Linked DNA regions of Homo sapiens: region 1 is linked to region 2. The links are contacts of gene promoters, found by promoter capture Hi-C in human tissues and cell types (Jung and others, 2019). All regions are on one chromosome and are shown on one strand. The core of a region is centred on a gene start or on the middle of the fragment in contact, and the rest is flanking DNA. Distances in the headings are between cores, read along the strand shown. Region 1 overlaps TJAP1 (tight junction associated protein 1). Region 2 holds the start of DLK2 (delta like non-canonical Notch ligand 2).

Region 1 (4,744 bases), core at 956-3,455, 35 kb after region 2:
CTTCACTCATTTCATTTTTGCCTTGGAAAAGAGAAAAATTATCTGATTTCTCAAATCCTATATTAGTGCAGTGAGAGTCCCTGATTTCTGAAACCTTGAATTAGCCATGTCACTTGCTGCTCTTTTAAAAGCACACCAGACCCAGTTGGTGTTTTTGTTTTCTTGTGGGTGAGGATTCTGAAGGTCACCTGTCAGTGGCTGTGCTCAGTCTAGAGCAGGGGTCAGGGCCTGTCGGAAGAGTTGTTGTCTTTTTTTTCTAGACAGTTGTCTCATCTTCATAGTCAGGCCTTGGCCTATTTGAGCTCTTGGGCTGTAGTCAGAGCAACATGGGGAGCCCAGTGTGTAGGCAATTATTGGAAGTGTTTCCTGTCTGCGTGAATCTTGATCCTAGGCTTGGGAAAAGGCCAGGCCCACCTCTGTGGCCAGGGTGGTGACTCTTCCCTTTTTGCCCTGAGTCATCAGAGAGCCTGCAGGGCTTCCTAGAACAGGAGAGAGGACCCCTCTCTTGTCTTTTCCCTGCCAACATCTTACCCTCTGCTAAGCATCAGTGGGTGTGGATATATGTGTTGCAGTCCTGTCCTCCCGCCCCAGGGGACACATCTTGTGGGGTCTCTGGAATGCCACTGCTTTTGCCTCATTTGCCTTGCAGTCTGTGAGCTAGAGGTGTCACTTCCCCCAGGGTGGTCTGGAGGCTTCATGGAAGAGTTGTTTCTGCCGTTGATGGGAGAGCTTCTTGCTCTGTTGCTCGTGTTGCTTGTTCTGAGAGGGGAGAATAGTCCCTGTTGCTCCTCTGGGGCTGGTTCCCTGGGAAGTGCCACCCCTGGCCAGGCGGCAGTGTGCAGCCCGTGCTGTTGACTGGCCCAGCTGTAGGCCAGGCACACACTGCCCCATTGTACTGTGCTTTCCGACGCAGCCCTTGTCATAGCCTCTAATCCTTGGGCTGCTTCTCTCCCAGCCCCTCAGAGCCTGTGGGAGGTGGTGGGATGGACTCTGCTGGCACTGGTGCGGGATGGGTTGCAGCTGCAGCTGTGGGTGGCTTTGTTCTTACAGCCTAGCTTTCAGAGTCCTGGTGCAGCCTGGCAGCAGTGTTTGGGGAACAGGCGAGATAGAGGAGCTGAGCCCCTTCTCCAACAGCCGTCCTCTCTTTCTGTTGACCAACCAGAGAGGCTTTTTGCCTGAGGTCAGCAAGCTGGCCTCCCTGGTTGGCAGGGGGAGTGCTTGGCTTCCATCTGGCATGGTTTCCGGATGGGAGAAAGCCCCTGAGGGTCTGGTGGTAAGTCTGCGATGCTTCCCATCAGGAGAGTGCAGTGTGCAGTGTGTCCCCTTGGGCATCCTGCAGCTTGCCATTCCTCTGCTTTCTCTCTGCAGCTCCGGAGTTGGGCTGCTCACAAACCAAGCTGTCTGTTTATATGGAGTGCCTGGAGGGCATCTGCCATGAGTCTGTCGCTAACTGCACTAACCAGGAGAGCTGGCTGGTTGGGGAGAAGACACTAACCCTGTGAGTCTGACCTCAGCCAGCTAACCTGCCCTGGGGTGCCACCAGCAGGGCCTCTGTCCTCCATCCTTCCCCGCAGCCTGGCTGCCTCCCTCCTTAGCTTATATCACGCCATCTCCTCTGCTCTCTTGTTCTTACTACTGCGTCCCTCTATTTTCCCAGTCTCCCTTTGCTGTGGGTGGGGATGTGCCCCCTTCACGGCCACCTGCCCATCACCAGCCTGCTGCTGGGCTCCACTGACCACCCCCCACCGTCACCCTTCCCCGAGTCAGCAGCGTGCTCTTCACTTCTCCCTTCATACAGAATTGGTTCGAGTTTCTGTTGAATCTGTGCTTTTAGCACAGAGTTTGAGAAGATCCCTCAATTACCATGCTGCTGCTGCTTCTCATGCCTCAGAGACAGATGAACTAGAGTGGGAAGGGACTTTTCTCCTAGATCAGATCATTTCCTCCCTTTATCAAGAAGGGAAGGTTGGATAGTGTCCCTGTTACTCTCACCCTAGGATAAGAAGTTAGGATCAGCTGCAAGGTTCTCTTTAGGATTGGGGAGGTAGAGGAAAACCTTGACCTGGTTCTGGGGAATTCCCTGGGCAGAAAAGTGAAGCTACTTAAACTGAATGCTGGGGCCCCAAACCAGGGACCCATGTGAGATGTCACTCCCATTGGTGACCGTTGCTCTGGGAGGTGAAGTTTGTCCCCCCCACCTCTTTTCACATCCGGAGTTTCTGGTGGACTTTAGCCATGAAAAGCTGGGAAGGGTGCCTCAGTAGAGTGGGGGCAGGACCTGGCTTCGGATTCCACACTGGGCTCAGAAAAAGTCCTGGCCTCAGACTGGGAGATGGGTGCGTGCAGCCTGGCTTGGAGAAGCTCCCACGCAGTCCCTTCTCCCTCCAGGCTTGGGAAGGAGAGGCGGGTCTGGAGATCATGAGAAAGTTGATTGCCTGTTGTTTCCTGGTGTTCCACACAGGTCACTCTAGATAGACTGTGGCTTCGGCTTCCGGAGGCAGTGTGGTGCTAGGGAGGCTGGACAGGGGGAGCTTGAGAACAGAAGGCTGCCTAAGTGGATTCTGTTCCCCTTGGGCTGGGTGAGAGAAGGCAGCAGCCTACCAGCACTGGGTGGGAGCTTGTAAATGGGAGAGGGTGTGTTATGGGCCCGGAGCGAGGAGGATAGCACTCCTGAGCGGGATGATGATTTCTCGGAGGTTGATAGATTAAGAGACCAAAGTTGGTGGGGGATATCCATGTTGACCAGAAATATCTGTTTGTTTTTTTGGGTTTTTTTTGAGACAGAGTTTCGCTCTTGTTGCCCAGGCTGGAGTGCAATGGCACGATCTCGGCTTTCTGCAACCTCCGCCTCCCAGGTTTAAGCGATTCTCTTACCTCAGCCTCCCGAGTAGCTGGGATTACAGGCATGCGCCACCACGCCCGGCTCATTTTGTATTTTTAGTAGAGACGGGGTTTCTCCATGTTAGTCAGGCTGGTCTCGAACTCCCGACCTCAGGTGATCTGCCCGCCTTGGCCTCCCAAAGTGTTGGGATTACAGGTATGAGCCACTGTGCCTGGCCCGATGAGAAATATCTTGATGAAAATGCACTACGTCCAATAAATGAATATATGTACTATGCAATATTAAGGATTTATAGTACTGATCAATATCCATGTGGAAATGAATTTTATTATATGATTAATAATAGTGAATGTATGATAGTTGATTAAGGAATAAACAATACCTATTTATATGCATGTGGATTGAGCTTATAATGTATTATATATGAGTGTACTATGTACAAATAAACATTTATAGTACTATATATTATTCATGGGGACTAGCAGTAATGCAGAGATGTTTAGGGACCCCAAATGGGGAGTTAACAAGCTGGAGGCTTTCTTGACTTGGCTCTGACCAGGAAAGCAAAAGGGCCTGGAGTTGAGGCCTGGTTGAGGGCCGGTCCTTCACTTTGGCCTTTCTTAGGAGAGGGCATGGGGTCTAATGTCAAATGCAGGCTATGACCTTGGGGATTTCTTGCCCTCTTTTTTTGCAGGGAGGGGTTGGTTTGCCTGGCTCTTTAGCCCCTTGTTCCTGTGAAGTGTTTGTCTGGATGTGAGGCCAGGTGGATAGACTTGGAAGTGTTTGCTCATGTGGGAGCCAGATGAGCTCTCACAGGTCACCAGCACTGTTCTGAGTCCTCAGGATTGCTTTGGGGCAGAATAATTCCCACTCTTTTTGGCTTTCAAAACCCTGTCAATCTGTTTGGTTTAGAGTAGGCAGGGGGCCAGGTCAGGGCTGCAGGCAACTTGTCCCAAGAGGGTGAGGTTGTACTTGCCCAGAGGGGTGGCGGGCATAGCTGTTGGAGGGGCAGCAGGGCTGGTCTGGGCACAGACTGACATCTTCTAGCCTTGTCTTCAGCCCAGAGCAGAACCTCTGCCCAGTCCCCACCCTATGAGCTGTTGGCTGCCTGCCTGCCACGCGCCCGGGATTGCTGAAGGCTTTACTCATGTATCTCAGGAACAGCTGCATGCCGGAAACTGGGGGCTGGTGGCAAGCAGGAGGGGTACCCCGGAGACGATGTGGGCGAGGCCGAACCCAGTTTTGGTGGGATCAGCCCACTGCTCTGGGGGACTGCTATTCATGGGGAGTCAGTGGGAGAGGGGCTGTATTAATGGTGCAAGGAGTGGGGATCTTCATGAGCAATCCCCAGGACCAAGGCCAGGTCACCTGGTTCCAGGGCTTACGCTTGCAGGGTGACCATTTGTGTTCCTTAGACATCAGTTGGGGGCAGAGACTGGATTTCAGAGGCTTGAGAAGCGGCCAGACTTGTGTGGCGGGAGTGTAGCTGACCCCCACTGGGGCACAGCTTCCCACAGGCTTGCAGACTTCAGAGACTCCACATCCAGCACTTACAGCTCAGGACAGTTCCTGAGGGGGAGGCCCCAGTCCCTGTGTGATCAGACATTTGTGTTTTAGTGGTTGATGAGGGGCTTTAGGAAGGGCTTGTATTTATTATTATTTATTTATACCCTGCTGGGTTCCAAGGGAATTAAGGTGGCATACAACACAGCTGGTGTATTCTGAAACGGCTGGGTGTTCCTTTCATTTTAAAAGCAGTAGCGATTACTAACTTCCGTTTGACTTTGCTTGGTTGAATTATGAAGAAGAGCTTGGATGATTTTCATGGTAATGTGTGGGCCCTTCCTGATTCAGAAGGTTGTGTTCATTGACTCCTTAAGGTCTCTCACTTGCTTGATTCAT
Region 2 (5,095 bases), core at 455-2,954:
ATGATTCCAGGGCAAACACTTGACCCATATTTTAAAAGCCCTCCAGGGGTGAAGAGTCTCAAAGACCCCCAGCCAATTGAACTACCTGCCTCATCAACTCATTTCCTTATGTCCACTTTCCTCCTGCTACAGAATTTGCCCAATCTCCCAGTGAGTCAACTACTCAAACTCATCAAGAAAGATCCTCTTTCATTGTAAGTGTTTCTCCCCAGCAACTCTCCCTGCAGCATTTCTTTTCCAGGCTAAACCATTTCTCTTTCCCTTTTTCCTTTATCTTTCCATTTCCTCATGGCACCCAATCCCCAAGCTCTCTCAAGCTTTAGGTCTCTCTCCCTGTCAGGAGTTCAGACAATCCCTGGATCAGACTTGGGAGATTAAAGAAGTGGGGAGATAAAAACTAGAAGAAGCAAGAGAGGTGAGGTAAAGGGGAAAGGGGGACTGGCCAGTCAGCCATAGGAGTGATGAGGCATGAAGAGTAGAGTCTGAAGCCCCTAGACACTGTTGTGCACGTGAAGGGCTTAGAAATGGGTACCAAAGGGTTTGGGGGCACGTGCTCAGGACAGGTACCTGCAGGAGCCGTCAGGTGCACAGCAGCCGTGGGCCAGGTCACAGTGGGAGCTGCAGTCATCGGCTGCAAGAGATTGATGTGGGAGGGGTGAGTCTGAGTCAGGGCACAGCTCGCTGGGATGCGGGACTCAGGAGAGGATTGGGGTTCCAGTAACTGAGCGGACTCAACCCTAGGGCAGGACATAACACAGAAACTCATCCCATTCCAAAAAGGCAACCTCGGTCTTGCTTGCCCCGCGGGTCGGAGCGACTGCAGTGCCGCCTCCGGCCGGCAGAGGTCAACGTGCAAGCGAGGACGGCTGGACAGGGCCGCGACTGGAGCCCAGCGGGCGCGCTCACCTCGGACAGGCTGACCGGGAGCCCCCAGAATGCACAACAGGCACACGAGATGCAGGCAGCGGCAGCCGCTGGGCATGGTCAGCGCCGGCCCCAGGAGGGACGGACGGATGGACGGCCGGACGCGTGGACACCTGTGGGACGGCACCGGTTGGGAGGCGGCCGGACGCGGAGATAGCGGCACGGATACGGGTTCCAAGTGACAGGAGCCGACGAGGGAGAGGGGCGCCGGGACAGAAGAAGGGGATGGGGGTAGCGGGAGGATGGGGGCAGGGAAGGGTTGAGCAGGCGAAGAGAGCGAGGAGAGCGAAGACAGGAACCCGGGAGCGGGGTCTGCAAGGAGGGGAAAGATGGGCATCGCGGAGCGAGGCCAGGCGCGGGAATGGCTGGGGTTGGGATCGTAGTCAGGACGGAGGGGTCCGCGGGATGGGGACAGCGCCGAGAGGCGGCCTCGAGCACGGAGGGGACGCGGGGGCCGGAGGGAAGGACGGTTCCCGGCAGCGAGCAGTCTCCGCCCCACAGCTCCGACAGCCCCCCCCCCCGCCACCACCACTCTCTCCCACGTCCCCTTTCTATCTCCGCCGCGCTGGGTTCGGCGGCGGCGCGGGGCCTGGAATCCCCACCGCGCCCTGTCCCCGCAGTCCTCACCTCCGGCGGGGAGGTGGCGCGCCCCGGGGCGCAGAGAGAGGCCGGATCCGACGGGCGCCGCCGAGGGGCCGTGAGGGAGCGCGGGGCCGCCCCTAGCTGGCCGCGGGGCCGGGCGCCGAAGCGGCTGCCATGCGAGCCGAGCGCTCGGGAATCTGGGGCTCCAGGCGACCCCGAGCGGCGGCAGCGGCTGCTCCTCGCGCGCGCTCAGGCCCCCTGCCAGGGGCGGAGCCCGCCCCCACCCCCATCCCCCCCCCCGCGACGCACGGCGCACACCTAGCACCCGGCGCGCCCCGGGGCCCCGGCCCTCCGCGGCTACCCAACGCCCCGAACCCAGCTTCCTTCCAAGAGAGGAGGAAATCTTAGGAGTCTCAATGGGAGCAAACTATTAAGCCAAAGGAGCGCAACCCCGTTATTCTCTCATCTCCCATGCCCACTTTCCCGACCAGCGCTCCGCGGCCCACGCCCCAGCCCTGCCTTCGCTTGTCCGCCGCTCATCACGCTTCTCATATAGATCTATGCACACGCAGGCAATCGCTCCCCGCCCTCCGCCTGTCACCAGCCCACGCCTCCCCGCTTGTAAAGCCTTCATCACCTGCTTCATCTGTGTGCTCCTCTGCTCCTCCTCGCCCTCCGCTTCTTCCTGTCCACGTTGCCGTCTCCAGCCTTCCAAGATCAACCTATCCCTATATAAATATCAACCCGATCCACCCAACCACACCCCGGCCCTACCCCCACCACCCTTCCCTCCCTCAAGTCTCAGCCCTTCCACCCCATTCCTTTTTGTGACTGCCTCTGAGAATCCTTTCTGGACTGGGAATGCCCCTGACTCTGTAAATGTGCACACAAAACCCCCTCCACCGCCAAGTCTTCTCCTGTACCCCATCACGTTCGTCCTTGGCCTCAGGCTAAACCTCAACTGCCCAAACCTGGAGCTCAGATTCAGAGAGTAACGGAGGGGGAGTGGGGGAAAGCTGCCCTCCAGGCCTCTTTGCCCCCTTCTGGCTAATGGCTCAGAGACACATTTCAAGACAAGGACCCAGCCAAGCTCGGTGGGCTCACGCCTATAATTCCAGCACTTTGGGAGGCTGAGGCGGGCGGATCACCTGAGGTCAGGAGTTCGAGACCAGCCTGGCCAACATGGTGAAACCCGTCTCTATTAAAAATACAGAAATTAGCCAGGCGTGGTGGTGCGCGCCTGTAATCCCAGCTACTCGGAAGGCTGAGGCAGGAAAATCGCTTGAAAACCCGGGAGGCAGACGTTGCAGTTAGCCAAGATCGCGCCACTGCACTCCAGCTTGGGGGACAGAGCAAAACTCCGACCCCCGCCCCCCCCCAAAAAAAGACAAGGACCCAGAACATAATTTCTAGTTTGTGCAGGACAACAGGGCAGAGGTCAGGAACGCTAGCGCCCATCTCTAGTCCTTCAGATTGAGATTTCACCATCTTTAAATTCAAAACATCGGAAGGAGCAGTCGCTAGTCGGGGCAGAGCAGCTTCCCACCTTCACACAGCCACCTCCACAGGCACAGAGCCCCAGGGCTCATTTTTCCTGCAGTCTCCATTGGATATAACACTTACACCCACTCAGCTCCCTAGCTGGCCTCCTCTCAGCTGTGATCGCCTCTTCCCTGAAGAGCTCTCTGAATTTGAGTAATGACATGGCTGTACCATTCATTTTGTTTAAACACATTTTTTTTTTTGGTGAAAAATTGCAAACAACCTATAATTCAAAAATTACTGTAGGCAAATAAATTATGGCACATCAACACTATGTGACTGTTAAAAATACTTTTTTTTTTTTTTGACGTCTAAAGATGTCCAAAAAAGCTAAGAATATGTAAAGTGCGGTGGGGGGAAGCCGGAAACAAAGAAGAACGTACTTTGACATTGGCAGTGCTTTTCTCTGGATGATCGAATTATAGAGGTTTTTTTTTTTTTCTTATTAATACTTTTCAGCATTAACACTTTTTTTTTTTTTTTTTTTTTTTTTTTTGAGACGGAGTCTCGCTTTGTGGCCCAAGCTGGAGTGCAGTGGCGCTATCTCGGCTCTCTGCAAGCTCCGCCTCCCAGGTTCACGCCATTCTCCTGCCTCAACGTCCCAAGTAGCTGGGACTACAGGCGCCCACCACCCCGCCCGGCTAATTTTTTTTTGTATTTTTAGTAAAGACGGGGTTTCACCATGGTAGCCAGGATGGTCTTGATTTCCTGACCTCGTGATCCGCCCGCCTCGACCTCCCAAAGTGCTGGGATTACAGGCGTGAGCCACCGCGCCCGCCCCTTTTTTTTTTTTTTTAAACAATGAACATCTATAACTTGTTTTTTGTTGTTGTTTGTTTGTTTTTCCTTGAGATTATCACTCTGTCGCCCAGGCTGGAGTGCAGTAGTGCAACCTCAGCTCAGTACAACCTCGTCTCAGCCTCCAGTATAGCTGGAATTGCAGGCACAGCGCCACCACGCCCAGCTAATTTTTTTTTCTCGAGACTTTCAGTGCTTTTCTCTGTCAGATATCATTATCTGACATTATATTAAATATTTATTGTTTATTGACCATCTCCCCACTACAAAGCAAACTCCAGAGGTCTGGGATGTTTTCTTGCTCATCACAGCATCCCCAGTGTCTAAAACAATGCCTGGCATAGTAGGTATTCAATAAATTTTTTTAAAATTCTGTTTGTTTAATTAACTCTTTTTTTTTTTTTTTTTTTTTGAGACAGGGTCTCGCTCTGTCACCCAGGCTGAAGTGCAATGGCTCCATCTTGGCTCACTGCAACCTCCGCCTCCCGGGTTCAAGCAATTCTTCTGCCTCAGCCTCCCGAGTAGCTGGGATTACAGGCGCGCCCCCACCAAGCCAGGCTAATTTTTGTATTTGTAGTGGAGACAGGGTTTCGCCATGTTGGCCAGGCTGGTTTACAACTCCTGACCTCAGGTCATCTGCCCGCTTGGCCTCCCAAAGTGCTGGGATCACAGGCGTGAGCCACTGCCCTCGGCCTGCCCAGTTAATTTTTGCATTTTCAGTAGAGACGGGGTTTCGCCATGTTGGCCCGGCTAGTCTCGAAGTGACCCCAAGTGGTCCACCGGCCTTGGCCTCCCAAAGTGCTAGGGTTACAGGCATGAGTCACCGTGCCCAGCCTAACATTTTTTTAGAATAAAGTAAAAAGAAAAAGGCCAGGTGCGGTGGCTCACGCCTGTAATCCCAACACTTTGGGAGGCTGAGGTGAGAGGATCATGAGGTCAGGAGATCGAGACCATCCTGGCTAACACGGTGAAGCCCCGTCTCTACTAAAAATACAAAAAATTAGCTGGGTGTGGTGGCAGGCGCCTGTAGTCCCAGCTACTCGGGAGGCTGAGGCAGGAGAATGGCATGAACCCAGGGGGCGGAGCTTGCAGTGAGCCGAGATAGCACCACTGCACTCCAGCCTGGGTGACAGAGCGAGACTCCGTCTCAAAAAAAAAAAAAAAAAGAAAGCAAACTGGCTGGGCGCGGTGGCTCACGCCTGTAAATCCAGCACTTTGGGAGGCCAAGGCAGGCAGATCACCTGAGGTC

The links. The method cuts DNA at HindIII sites, captures the fragments that hold promoters and counts their contacts. A contact is called where the count stands out against the background at its distance.
Region 1: a contact is called between a fragment that was not itself captured here and the fragment with the promoter of DLK2 in region 2, in 1 of the 25 tissues and cell types used here (neural progenitor cells).

The regions. Positions count from the first base shown.
Region 1 is chr6:43,488,531-43,493,274 of GRCh38, forward strand. All of the region lies in intron 2 of TJAP1 (tight junction associated protein 1), which reads left to right. Among named protein-coding and RNA genes, the nearest start is that of TJAP1, 13 kb to the left of the region's middle. RefSeq lists enhancers at 1,113-1,706, 1,707-2,301. The HindIII fragment of the contact is 8,583 bases long and covers 1-4,744 here.
Region 2 is chr6:43,453,844-43,458,938 of GRCh38, forward strand. It overlaps DLK2 (delta like non-canonical Notch ligand 2), which reads right to left and starts at 1,705. Exons shown (of 6, transcript NM_023932.4): 1 at 1,552-1,705; 2 at 907-1,037; 3 at 568-631. The coding sequence starts at 982. RefSeq lists enhancers at 684-733, 2,362-3,203 and silencers at 1,264-1,343, 1,374-1,423, 1,524-1,763. The HindIII fragment of the contact is 12,339 bases long and covers 1-5,095 here.